Linked DNA regions of Homo sapiens: regions 1 and 2 are each linked to region 3. The links are contacts of gene promoters, found by promoter capture Hi-C in blood cells and fetal thymus (Javierre and others, 2016). All regions are on one chromosome and are shown on one strand. Each heading gives the region's core, a stretch centred on a gene start or on the middle of the fragment in contact. The rest is flanking DNA. Distances are from core to core; before and after follow the strand shown.

Region 1 (4,309 bases), core at 1,805-4,304, 350 kb before region 3:
TTTTTTTTGTATCCATCCTTTTATCTCCTCTCTTACAAGTATGCCCTCCTTACATTATACCTGGACTATTACAAATGTCCCCAGTTCACTGCTGTCTTCCAGTTTCCTTCCACTCACCCATTCTGCACACAGGCATGGGACAAAAAAAAAAAAAAAAAAAAAAACTAAAACTTTACGGCAGTTCTAGCTCAAGAATCTTTAACAGCTCTCTTACACTGGAAAAAAGGAAACCATTTATTCCTGTTATTAATCATAAGCCGCCAATTCTTATTTGCCATCTTCACTGGCCAACAGAATGAGTGCTCATGAAAGAATAGATGTTTCAGCAGTGCCTTTCACCCATCCCATTCTGAATTCATCACATAATACTCCACACTGCACATTCGGGCACTTCATTGTCAATACAATTGGTTTTCTTTTTCATGTGTACAGCTCTTGTCTGCCTTCTCCAAAACCACAGAAGGGTTTTCAGGACAGACTCATAGTCTCTTATTTCCACCATTTCTCAGGACTGTGCTACTATTAGGTACATACTTACTGTATAGTTAAATAATTAGAGATCTAATAATCCAAGTTTGAGAAGAATTTCATCATGAGAAAAAAAAAAAAACCAGACCCACGCAGTAACTGTACCAGGATAGTTTATAAAGCAGGAAAAGAAAATAGCAACATTAAGAATTTGAGCAAGAAAAGGCTGGGTTTGGGGGTCTTAATAAGTACTTGAAAGCAGATGGGTAGATTTGGGTAAACTTCCTAAGAGACCAGTTTAAAGGTTGTTACAAAGAATGACTCTAAATTACGCTAACCAAAAAGAAGACTTTTGTCTAGTGATCTGGAGACCATCTAAAATCTGAATAACGTGTTTAAGGGAAACTAAAAGAAGAGTGGGGAGTGGTAGGCCACGGAACTTGATATGCTTTCCTATCTCTTGAGATGCAAGACACTCTTTGGGTCAGTACTGAAGAGACCACTTTGTAGACACCTTTCCATCTCTCGAGATTCTGTGTGAACCTGTGCATTATGCCAACTAATTAGAGTACTTAGATGTTACAGCTATATGCAATTTGTAAATAATTAGCTTGTAAAGTACTTTGAAAATAGAAAGTACCAGCAAGTACTCAGAATTACTACATGTTAAAAGCCTTTGGTATATATTTAATAATCAGCTTTTTAAAAGTCACAGTACTTTACAGCTGAAGAGAATTTCTGATCTTGAATCACTGGCATGAGTTTATTTAGAATGAAATGCTATTGGAGTGCAAATCAGATGCGGATTAACTTTTCACAGGATGTATAAGATTCACATTCATCTCCCTAGTCCTTTTTGGACCAACTCAGCTTTCCCTCAGGTCCCTACAGACTTTATGCAGATTCCTTTCACATATACAAGACTCTTGGTTAACCTGCCTGCCCCCTTCTCAGTTTCTTCCCTCCACCCAACTGCCTTCTGCAGGTGTTTTGTATGAACCCGTGAGTTTATGGTCACCCTAAAGACATTCAAGACTGCATTCTACGTGATCAGTCTAAATTCTTTTAGGTGCAATGAAGTTGTGATGTGGTGAGCGGTCGCCTCTGGCTGTGTTTCCCACTGTACTTCATCTACTATCATCAGTCTGTACCTTGATGTCCACTAATTAAACTTTGTTTTCATCTCCTGACAGGCCTTGGTTTAGAGGAATTAAACTCCAGGTAAGTAATTCTGTTTACTATCCCCACAGGCAAAGTTTTGGGAGAGGAAAAAAGTTTTTAATCCTTTTCCACATCCTTTTTGAGCTTCCTTTTATCTTCAAAGGCTAATGCCCTTAAACAAACATTGACTTTCCAGAATTTCTTACTGTCACCATAAGAGAATATGCTGTATCCTTGCCCTATGACATCCCTGCTCCCGCCTAAACTCACCTCTTCCAATGTCTTCATGTGATTCTTTTATTGGAAAACCAAACTAAGCCATTCCTCTGTATAATGAGTGGTAATGTTTACTCTTCTTAGGCAGTAAACTAATGCTGTTACTGCCTAGTGACCTCCACGTTAACTCCAGGTGACATTTTTCTATTCCCTATTTGAAACCCTTGGCTTCCACACCCTATTTTTGCACTTTCCTACCATTACATTGACCCAAACTTACAAATACTCTTATCTTTAACTCTTCTTTGACCCAAACTTTAAATACTGAAGTTGCCTAGGGCTTTGTTCTGGGCCCACTTCTTTGTCACCCTCTATTTTTTTTTTTTTAATCAATTTATGTCATCTTTATGGCAAGGACTCATAAAATTTGTCTCCAGCTTAGATCTCTTCCACGATCTCCAACTCACATAGCCACTGCTTACAATGTTCACAAATGAAACTTTTGACTCCTATCATCTTTTCCACCTCCCAATCTATTTTCCATTTTAAGCTTCCCAATTTCAGTAATTGGCCCCAAAGCTAGGCAGTAGTCATCTTTGATTCTTCATCTTCCACAGTTCCTGAAGTGTACCAATTCTGTGCCAATTCAATTCTAAAATATACCTCAAACCTACCTTCTCTTCTCCATCACTAGCTTCTACCCTTCCAGGCCACTTCAACTCTTTATAGTGTCTCTCTCTGCTTCTACTCCAGCCTCCCTATAATTCATCTCCCCCCACTCTGTAATCAAAGTAAAGAAGACGTCATTCCCACTGAACCTAAAATCCAAAATCCCTACTACCCCAACTCTTCCTCCCATGGACTCCAGAGGACAGGCCCTTCTCCTTGTCTACTGTGCTACAAAAACATGCAAATCTTTGTTCAATATCTTCAGTTCCTCATGCCACCAGTTTTCTGCTTTAGGACCTTTGCACATGCTATACCCCCAGAATGCATTTTCTCTCCTCTTTGCACAGCCAGCTCTCTCCCTTCCTGTAATCTCTAGAACACCTTTCCTAACTTCCGTGCCTAAAGTAGATTCCTTTCTTATGTTTTCTATCTTGACCCTACATTTGCTGCTTTTACAGAATTACAAGTTTTTAATTTTATATATTTTTTTGAGACAAGGTCTCCCTCTGTCACCCAGGCTGGAGTGCAATGGTGTGATCATGGCTCATTGCAGCCTCAACCTCCTAGGTTCAAGATATCCTCTCGCCTCAGCTTCCCAAGCAGCTGGGACTACAGGCATGTGTCACCATGCCTGGCTACCTTTTTTATTTTTTTGTAGAGACAGGGACTCCCCATGTTGCCCAGGCTTGTCTCAAACTCCTGGGCTCAAGTGATCCTCCCACCTTGGCTTCCCAGGTGTGAGCCACCATGCCGAGCCTCACAATTTTTTTTTAAGGGGCTCTTATAACACATGCTTTATGAGAACAGGACTTACTCTGTCTCATCCACTATAGCTATATATCTATCCCCAAGGCCTGGAACATACTAGTGCTCAAAAATATGGATATCTCTTTAAAGAATTTGGCTGAGTGTAGGAAATGTAGGCTCTATGGCACGCTAGTGTAAGAGGTCAGGTTTGAGTGACTGAAAAGCTGCATGCCATAACTACTTACATGAATTCATAGAGTATTTACTAAGTGTCCACTACCTGTCAGGTGTTCCAGGTACCAGAATCATGTTGACCTCCAAGTTGGTTTAGTGGGTAAACAAGATAAGCACTACCAATAGCATAGTAAATGCCAAGGCCAGGAAACACAGGGTGTAATGAAAGCACAAAGAAGTACCCAAACTAGGCTGAGAGGCCTGACACATAAGCTTTGACTTAAGAGTACGGCAGGAGTAAGACTGGCCCAGGAAGAGGGGATAGATAAACAAGGGCCCAAAGCACAGAGCACTGGCGGGTGGGATATGTGTTTTCCAAAACAGTCATTTCCCCTATATGGAATTTTCCTTCTCCTTGGCTTTACCTTCTCTCAAATAGGGCTTCTTCTACATTACCCTAGGCTATACCTACTTAAGGACTGAAAATGTTTTCTAGTCATCCCAATTTTCTCCTTCTGTAATATAATCAAAACATCTTACCTTACTTAGATCATGACTAAGTATATCCCAAAATTCAAGCAGTAAACTGGTATCTTTCCTGTAAATGCCTCAAAGATGGAGCCTTACTCCCTAAAACTCTCATGTAAAACCAGAATTCTCACACTTCTTCCAAATTATTCCCACCCTTGCCAAGTCTACCAATCACAGCAAATGATGCAATTCTTTAAAAGCCAAAAAGTTTAGCAAGAAGCCAAGTCCCCACCCCAATCTTCTTTCCTTCTGTTTTTAAACAACAATCTAACTGGGGTCATGGTTTTTGTCTCTTCCCTTACCCCCACCACTCCAACTACAGACATGGATATATACTTCTTTT
Region 2 (3,976 bases), core at 251-2,750, 270 kb after region 3:
TAGGAGAGGAGTCTCCTAGGGCCTGGGAGACCCGAGCAAGGACTTTGAATGTTACTTTCAGGATGTAAGCTTTAATCTCTCAACTCCATCTCCCTTCTGCCCTTTCAGCCTGACCAACCACCATCTCTCACTTGGACTATTGCAGCTGTCTTCTACCCAGACTCCCTCCTCCACCTTTGCTTCCTCTGACACAGTTTCCATAGAAAAACCAAAGTGATCTTTTGAAGAGGATGCAGTACTTTGGTGTATTCAACATCTTTTCCAACCTCCTCCCAGTGTGCCTTTCTCTCCTGCAGAAGCTGGAAAGGTGAGGACTGTATTTCCTAGACTCCATGAAATGTAGATTCCAACTTAGGCTCTGCTTAAGTCAAATGTAGGTGACCTGAGCTAGTGCAGAGTGAGGCAGGGAGAGTGGTGGCAGGGGGCAGGTGTTCACTTCTGCAGCTGGGTCCAGCAGGTGTGGGTCTAGGGGTCGTGGCTCCAGCAGGTGTTGGTCTAACGAGTTTGGCTCCAGTAGACGTGGGTCTAGGAGGTGTGGCTTCAGCAGGTGTGGGTCTGGCAGACGTAGCTCCAGCAGGTATGTGTTTAGCAGGTGCAGTGTAGCTCTGCAGTTGTAGTTGCAGCTGTGGCCTGTGGACACTGGACTGCTGCCTGTACGTTGTGTTCTGAGGCCAGCAGGTGCAGCTCATCTTCTGATTCCCCAGCTTCCTCACTGAAGTAGAGGTAACGGCTCCCCTGGTGAGTGAGCTCTGCAGTGACACTCTGCGAATTCCTCCTCAAGACCCAGGCCATGACCTGCTCCTCCAGCCCATCTAATGACTTGTGAGCAGATAATTCTCTGTATTAGGTGCTTTTCTTCTCAAAAAAGCAAGAGTGACTTCTTTCATGTTTTGTTGAACTCTGAATACAAAAGGCCACGCTGATCAAGTCACTTTCCAGCTCATTGACCATAGAATGATACCCAACATCCTTCATGTGCCTACTGTCCCTCGATGACTTAGACCCTTGCCTCCTTTGGGCACACATCACTCCCTTTTCTCTTCTAGTGACTCCCCCTCATCATCCAGATCACAGCCTAATGTCACTTCCCCAGAGAAGCCTCATTCTACGATTGCCAAAACCAAGCCCCACAGACCGGGTGGCACCAACAACAGGTACGAGTTTTCTCCCAGTTCCAGAGGCTGAAAGTCCAAGGTCAAGGTGTCAGCAGTGGTGGTTCCTTCTGAGGCTCTGAGGGAAGGATCTATTCCCAGCTACTCTCCTGGGCTTTTAGAAGGCCAACTTCACGTCCACACGGCTTTCTTTCTGTGTGTGTCCAAATTTCCCCCTTTTATAAGGACACCAGTCTTATTGGATTAGGGCCTGCCCTGATGACCTCATTTAACTGAGTCAATCTGCCATGACCCTACTTACAAGTCCAATTCCACTGTCAGGTGCTGGGGGTTAGGACTTCACCCTATGAGTTTGGGAGGATGCACACAGTTTATCCTCTAACAGCCAGGTTCTCAAGGTCTAACTTCTCCTCAAACTCTGCTTCTTCGTCAAAGCAGTCAATTCGGTGTGCGACGGTGCAGCTGCTGGTTGGTTAACATTTGTCCTCAGCTAGGGAGACTGTGTTGGATGATCCCCCAGTGCTTAGCACAGGGCCTCGGGCAGAGCAAGTGCTGAAGAGGTATTCGTTGGATTTGTGGATGAATGAGTTGAGGAATAAATGATTATTTCTAATAGCTGATGAAAGACCTAAAAGGCCAATGATAAGCAAGTGGCCAAATCACCCAAGACACAGTTGTTTATTACACAGCTGTTAAAATGTCTCTGAAGACTTTGTGACAATGTGGGAAAATGCTTATGATCTGACATTGAATGACATGGTAGAATACAACCGTTTATGGAATATTACATGAAAAAAGAACAGAAAAATGAGAGTCCAGTGTTGAACTCACAAAAACAAAAAATCATGTATAAATTGTGATCAGATTTTCCACATTAAATGTATTAGTTCTTCTCATTCATTAAATAAATAACTTCAGGTCAAAGCTAAAGAAAAATTAGCATCCTTAAACATTGGGATCCTATGAACTATCCTTTATTCATTTTGGAGTAAAAGATGGGATGGCAGGAAACACACAGGGCCTCATTTCTGCTTCTTTGGGCAAATCTTATTTTTAGTAACTCGCTTTGCCATTAATAAAACCACGTCTGATCATATGTAAAAATGATGTGTTTGAACTTCTTATTTTGCATACTTGCTCTTTAAAATTTTTTAAAAACATTTTTTCTTCAGAACTAATGCATGCTCATTAAAAAATTAAATATCAAAGTAAAACAAAAACTTAAAGCATCCTAAAATTGTGCCTCAAAGCCATAACCATTAATTACATTTTGGTAATATTCCTCCAGAATTTATTCTAAATATACAGATCTGTATATTTATTCTAAATATACAGATATACTAGAGTATAATACACACACACACAAGCATTATGCAGAAATGAATCCACACTCCATGAGGTCACAAACTGCTTTTTCATTTTAAGATATTTGTTGCCCATATCTGATGGTGTGGTCCGTATGCCCCCACAATCCTACTCTTTTTACCCAAGCAGCAACTCAGATGCGGAATCATCAACCTAGGGTCTGAGAGAAGCAGCTGAGATACAGGAAGGGGCCTGGCCATCTTCCCAAGGGCAGAATGAGCATGCCCTGGGTCCCCGACTGGGTCACACTCTGCTGCTCTGTGAGCTGGCTGCCTCTCTTTGTCAGGAAGACCAAGTTCACCGCCACGTGTGCTGGGGTGATTGGATGGGCCATGTGTGGCATCCTGGTTGGGTGGAAGCTGCCATGTAAGTAGTAAAAGAACAGAGCCAGAGCTGTCCTGCGCTTACTAGAGTTAAAGTCCCGCCATGTTTTGCAGAATTATCTAAAGCTTCCAAAGGTTATTGGAGTTATTTCCATTATTCAGAGCTGTGACCAAGTTTGTGAAACTGTATAACGTGGTTAAGAACATGGATTAAACATCTTTTAAGGGGCAGTGGTGTTGGCATGGGTTGTGGGTTCTGTGTGTTTGCGCATATGTGTGTGTGTGTGTGAGAGAGAGAGAGAGAGACTGTGTTTTACTAGCAATTTATAAGTTGTAGTCTCCATATTTTGTTGTAAACCCATAGTCCTTGTGTGTCCTCAAAATTTCTGAATGATCAATAGACATTGTTTCATGTTTGGTGAGTAAAAAAATTATATCTTTGAGAATTTTGATACCTCAGTACATCTGAAACATCTGAATAATACTTTGAGGTGTCTGATGAAAAATATAGTTGCTGCAGAGTCTGTAAATATCTTTTCTCCTCTCAAATTTTGAATAACATAAAGCCCAGGTTTTAATAAATGCTTCCAGGCTGTATTTTTTCCTCCCGAAATGAACTCTTCCCTGCTCTTTCTGTTTTCCTGGCTTCCTCTCTGGTACCAGCATGTCCTGGGAGGACCTTGTGTCACAGTCCCAGGGAATAATGAATCTCACCGCCGTGGAGGTGAACAAGGACGCCCGGTTCATGAACCTCCATGGTGAGGACATTTGCCGTTATTTTTTAAAATTTGAAGTTTTTTTTTTTAAATCATCTCATTGTCTTGTATTATAGAATATTATAGAAGATAAACTATTAATTATCTCATACTTTGGACAGTTTTCCCATTAATTTAACAGAGTAACTGTTCACATTCTTTCAAGGCGGAATACAAAATTTTACAGCCAATAATTAGAAGGGGCCCTGGGGGCATTATTCCTGTCCATGGTGCCAGCATCATCGATGTTTTATTGACTTCACCTTTGAAACTAAGCAAGGCACAAAACACGTCCTTTTATGTCAGAGTCAGGAGATTTGTTTCCCAGCACAGCAACTGCACATCACTTCACAGAGACGAAGACTTAGGTGGAGCAAGGGAAGAGGAAGTGCGAAGAACCTTGGGCTGGAAGCTTTGTTCT
Region 3 (4,022 bases), core at 1,108-3,607:
GGGCTTTAGAGTCAGGGTGGACCTTCCGGATGTGCTGATAAAGGGGTCGGATGGACAAGTAGCTGTCATAGTCTGTGATGGAATAGACCAGCAGAAAACCCTCGGCCCACTGCACGCATTTGGACAGGGAATCGACGACCTGGGGGAGGCTGTCTTGGATCTGAGAAAACATCAAAATGAGATCCAGTCAAGGAAACCCTCAGTGGGAGATAAACTCAAAACAACATCAAGGCAACCCTTGAAGAAACACTTGAAAAAGAAATCTCTAAATACAGTTTTCAGTTTCCACCCAGCTTCTGCAGAAGCAGGCTTTTGATATGGAAAGAACAGATTCCCAGGCAAACTCCCTGCCTGAGTTACTTTATTAGCTGTTATCCCTGCATTATTTTTAAACCCCTTGCTTGTCAGGCAGTCTCTGGTGAACCATGGCTGACTGAAGAATGACCTCAAACCAGAATGGCTCAAGTTTTAGGAAACACTAACTCATAATAAACAAAACTTTGAAAATAAGCCAAGATAAATATCTATTCCCAAACTCATAAAAACATTTTTAACATGCACTTCTTAAGAATGTTACAGAAAGAAATTCCTTTCTTAGGGTTCTTCCACAAGACCTTTCCTCTGGAGAACGGAGTAGCAATTAGTAACTGGTTAATAAACAAGTTACATTCTAGACCCTCTGCCAAGGGGTTATCTGATTGCAATTACTGACTTGAGGGAACAGCCATTAACAGCAGCAGTTCAGCAGTGCTTGGGCCGGGCGCTGTGGCTCATGCCTATAATCCCACCACTTTGGGAGGCCGAGGTGGGCGGATCACTTGAGGTCAGGAGTTCGAGACCAGCCTGGCCAACATAGTGAAACCCCATCTCTACTAATAAATAAATAAATAGATAAATAGCTGGGAGTTCCGGCGGGTGCCTGTAGTCCCAGCTACTCGGGAGACTGAAGCAGGAGAATCGAGGAGAATCGCTGGAACCTAGGAGGCGGAAGTTGCAGTGAGCTGAGATCCAGCCACTGCACTCCAGCCTGGGCAAGAGTGAAACTCCGTCTCAAAAAAAGCAGAGCTTGCCAGGGGAGAAGAGTCTCTCCCATCAGAATCCTACCTCTTTTTTTGTTTTGTTTTGTTTTGTTTTAAACGTTTTTTTCTTTGTTAATGGTTCCATGGCTACCTCCGGAAGAAATGGTGAGACCTGCTTAAGTAGTGATGGCCCACCAGGGTTGCAAAGTGAAGTTAAGTCAGGTGCTTAACAAGAGGAGGCTGCTTCTAACCATGCCTCCCCCTTAGAGAGTTTCTAACACCCCAACCACTGGCCCCACCTGTGGACAGCCCATTCCTCCCTCTAAACGCACAGGTCGGTTTAGATGCCTTGCTCAGACCCCTGCGCCCAGCATGGGCGCCCTACGTGCTGTGCCCACTGGGGTGGTCTCACGGGTGGGGGTGAGCTGTTTGCCCCTGGCGGTTCTTACCTGGACGCCCCCGGGAGTATCCTGGATCTGCAGGGAGAGCTGGTCCCCCTCGACATAGACCAGCCGTGAATACAGCTTGCCTGGAGAATGAAGTAGAGTTTGCTTTTTAATTCTCAAACTCCCATCCGTAAAAAGAAACACGCAAGCATAAAAGCAGGGAGCGTGAAAGTATTCTCACCTGTATTCGGTTCATAGTCTCCAATGAATCTCTTGGTCAGGAAGCGCACGATCATTGCTGAAAAGGAAATAGGAAAATCAACCGAAGGAGTAGAACAAGCCTGTCAAACCCAGGCACCTCGGACAAACTGGGGGGAGTGAAGGGTGCAGAACCGTGGGCACTGCTCGCTTCCAGAGGCTCCGCAAAGCCGTGGTGCCGCGGGCTTGGCCGCGAGTACGACTGGCGGGACACCTCTCCCGCACCCCATCCCCGAACAGGCGCCAATCCCGCCGAGATCCCAGGAGTAGATGCACCAGGAAACGCCAGGGAAGCAGGCCGGGACGGACCGGGACCCACCCAGCGCGAAAGCAGCCCGATTCTACCTGCACCCGCGCCCTCTGCTTCGGCCGAGGCGCCCTCTCTCCGCAGCGCCCCCAGTGGTCGCGGCCGGAGCCGGGGAGCGAAGCCGCCCGGGGGTCCCCGCCGCACTCACCGCTCTTGCCCACGCGGCCGGCGCCCAGCACCGCCAGTTTGATGTCCTTGGGCAGTAGGTAGTCCGAGGAGGACTCGGGGATGGGTGCGAGCAGAAAGTGCCCGGACATGCTGAGCGGCCGCATGGAGCGCGTCCCGGGGTCCGGCGCGCAATCCGAGAGGGCTGGGCCTCGCCGCACCCGGAGCCGGCTCGCCAGCTGGGAGTGCGGGACTAGAGGTCCGGGACCGCGGCGGCTGCCTGCAGAACTGTCAAGGCCCGCGGCTTTTAAAGGGCTTGGTGCGCCCGGGAGCGCGGCGGCCGTCCCAGCTCCTCCTCGTCTCCGCCCCTTCCCGGAGCGGCCGGGAGGGGCGGGAGCAGAGGCCGCGGAGCTGACTATCGCCGAGGCTGTGCGCTTCGCCGGGCTGCTAGCTGCTCGCGGCTCCAGGCGCTCTGCGGCAGGACTGCGGCTCCGGGGCTCAGACCCTGGAGATACGGCCACCGTCCAGAGCGCGCGAGTGGCCTCTAGTCAGGCATTCTGCGAGTCTCCTCGCCCCGCAGCAGCCAGCCGGAGTCACTAGACCTGTGGGTGAACTTGAGATAGGAGTTACGAGTTGACGAGAGAAGAAGAAAAAGTGCAATCAGTTGGATGTTTCTGCAACAATGGGACAGATTGCTGTAAAACGCTGCCCTTTTTATTTTTAAAAGGTGCTAAGGGGCTGGGCGCGGTGGCTTACGCCTGTAATCCCAGCACTTTGGGAGGCCCAGGTGGGCAAGATCATCTGCGGTCAGGAGTTCAAGACCAGCCTGGCCAACATGGCGAAACGCTGTCTCTACTAAAAATACAAAAATTAGCGGGGCGTGGTGGTGGGCGCCTGTAATCCCAACTACTCGGGAGGCTGAGGCAGCAGAATCGCTTGAACTAGGGAGGCGGAGGTTGCAGTGAGCCGAGATGGCACCACTGCACTCCAGCCTGGACCACAAGAGCGAAACTCCGTCTCAAAAAAAAAAAAAAAAGAAAGAAAAGAAAAGATGCTAAGGGGTAACATTAATATGGGAAAAGGGCGGGGGGCGGGGGGCAAGAGCTCTGAATTAGTATCAGTGGAGGCAACTGCAGTCACTGTGACCTTGCTAGGGATAGATGAAGTCCCCTTAGGGGCAGTGATGGTTAGCATCTCAGTATCCATGCCCAGCCCCTCCTCTGCAGGCAGGGGTTGCACTGGCTCATTCCTGAACACTCATGAGCACTCCACTGGCTGGGGGCCCTGGCCCTGCACTAAGTGTCCATCATTAATACTATCCTATGTGCTTGAGTCATGCATTTGCTTCAGTATCCAAATATTTACTTCTAGGTGCATGGTGGGGTCTAGGGTGGGGTGGGGGGCAGTGTGAGGAACAGGACACAGAGCTATAGACTGGTTCTTGGATTTCTGGAGCCCACCAGAAATAGCACAGCAGAAGCCTCAGGACTTTAACCTTGAACAGTTAGAAGACCTTCATGCCTCTGACCTCCTGTGTTCCAGCCTCACTTGCCTAATCGCCTATTAGACAGCCCCACCCTAATTCATACCTTTCTCTACCCTGGTTGTACCAGTTTTTGCTGCATGACAAGCCACACCAAACTAGATGGCTTAGAACAACAATCACTTACAGTTGTTGAGCCCTTTGATGCATCTGCAGGGAGCTTCCAGGTTCTGGAAGTGGGGGCTGGCTGCCCTTGGATAGCCTTACTCATGTCTGGCAGCTGTTGGCTGTGATGAGGGAGGGTAGTGACTGAGTTACATGTCTCTTCTCATTCAGCACGTTGGCCAGGGCCTGCCTTCATGGTAGCTGAGCAGAGTTCCAAGAGAGTGGGTGGAAATGGATAAGGCCTCTTGAGACCTAGGCCTTGAGAAGGAACCCATCCCTTCTGCTGCATTCTGTTGGCC

Evidence for each region. Contacts are between HindIII fragments. The CHiCAGO score rates a contact against its expected background, and 5 or more counts as called.
Region 1: a fragment that was not itself captured here is called in contact with the fragment with the promoter of RASL11A in region 3 in 1 of 17 cell types (neutrophils); the score reaches 5.7 in neutrophils.
Region 2: a contact is called between a fragment that was not itself captured here and the fragment with the promoter of RASL11A in region 3, in 8 of 17 cell types (megakaryocytes, erythroblasts, total B cells and 5 more). The highest score is 11.4, in megakaryocytes.

Annotation. Positions count from the first base shown.
Region 1 is chr13:27,623,583-27,627,891 of GRCh38, reverse strand. It overlaps a transcript of POLR1D not described here. Among named protein-coding and RNA genes, the nearest start is that of POLR1D, 3.8 kb to the right of the region's middle. The HindIII fragment of the contact is 1,313 bases long and covers 2,398-3,710 here.
Region 2 is chr13:26,998,464-27,002,439 of GRCh38, reverse strand. No RefSeq gene overlaps it. Among named protein-coding and RNA genes, the nearest start is that of USP12-AS1, 130 kb to the left of the region's middle. The HindIII fragment of the contact is 2,857 bases long and covers 72-2,928 here.
Region 3 is chr13:27,269,165-27,273,186 of GRCh38, reverse strand. RASL11A (RAS like family 11 member A) reads right to left here and starts at 2,357. Exons shown (of 4, transcript NM_206827.2): 1 at 2,119-2,357; 2 at 1,647-1,703; 3 at 1,469-1,548; 4 at 1-160. The coding sequence starts at 2,242. RefSeq lists silencers at 1,957-2,186, 2,227-2,446 and an enhancer at 2,395-2,895. The HindIII fragment of the contact is 11,897 bases long and covers 1-4,022 here.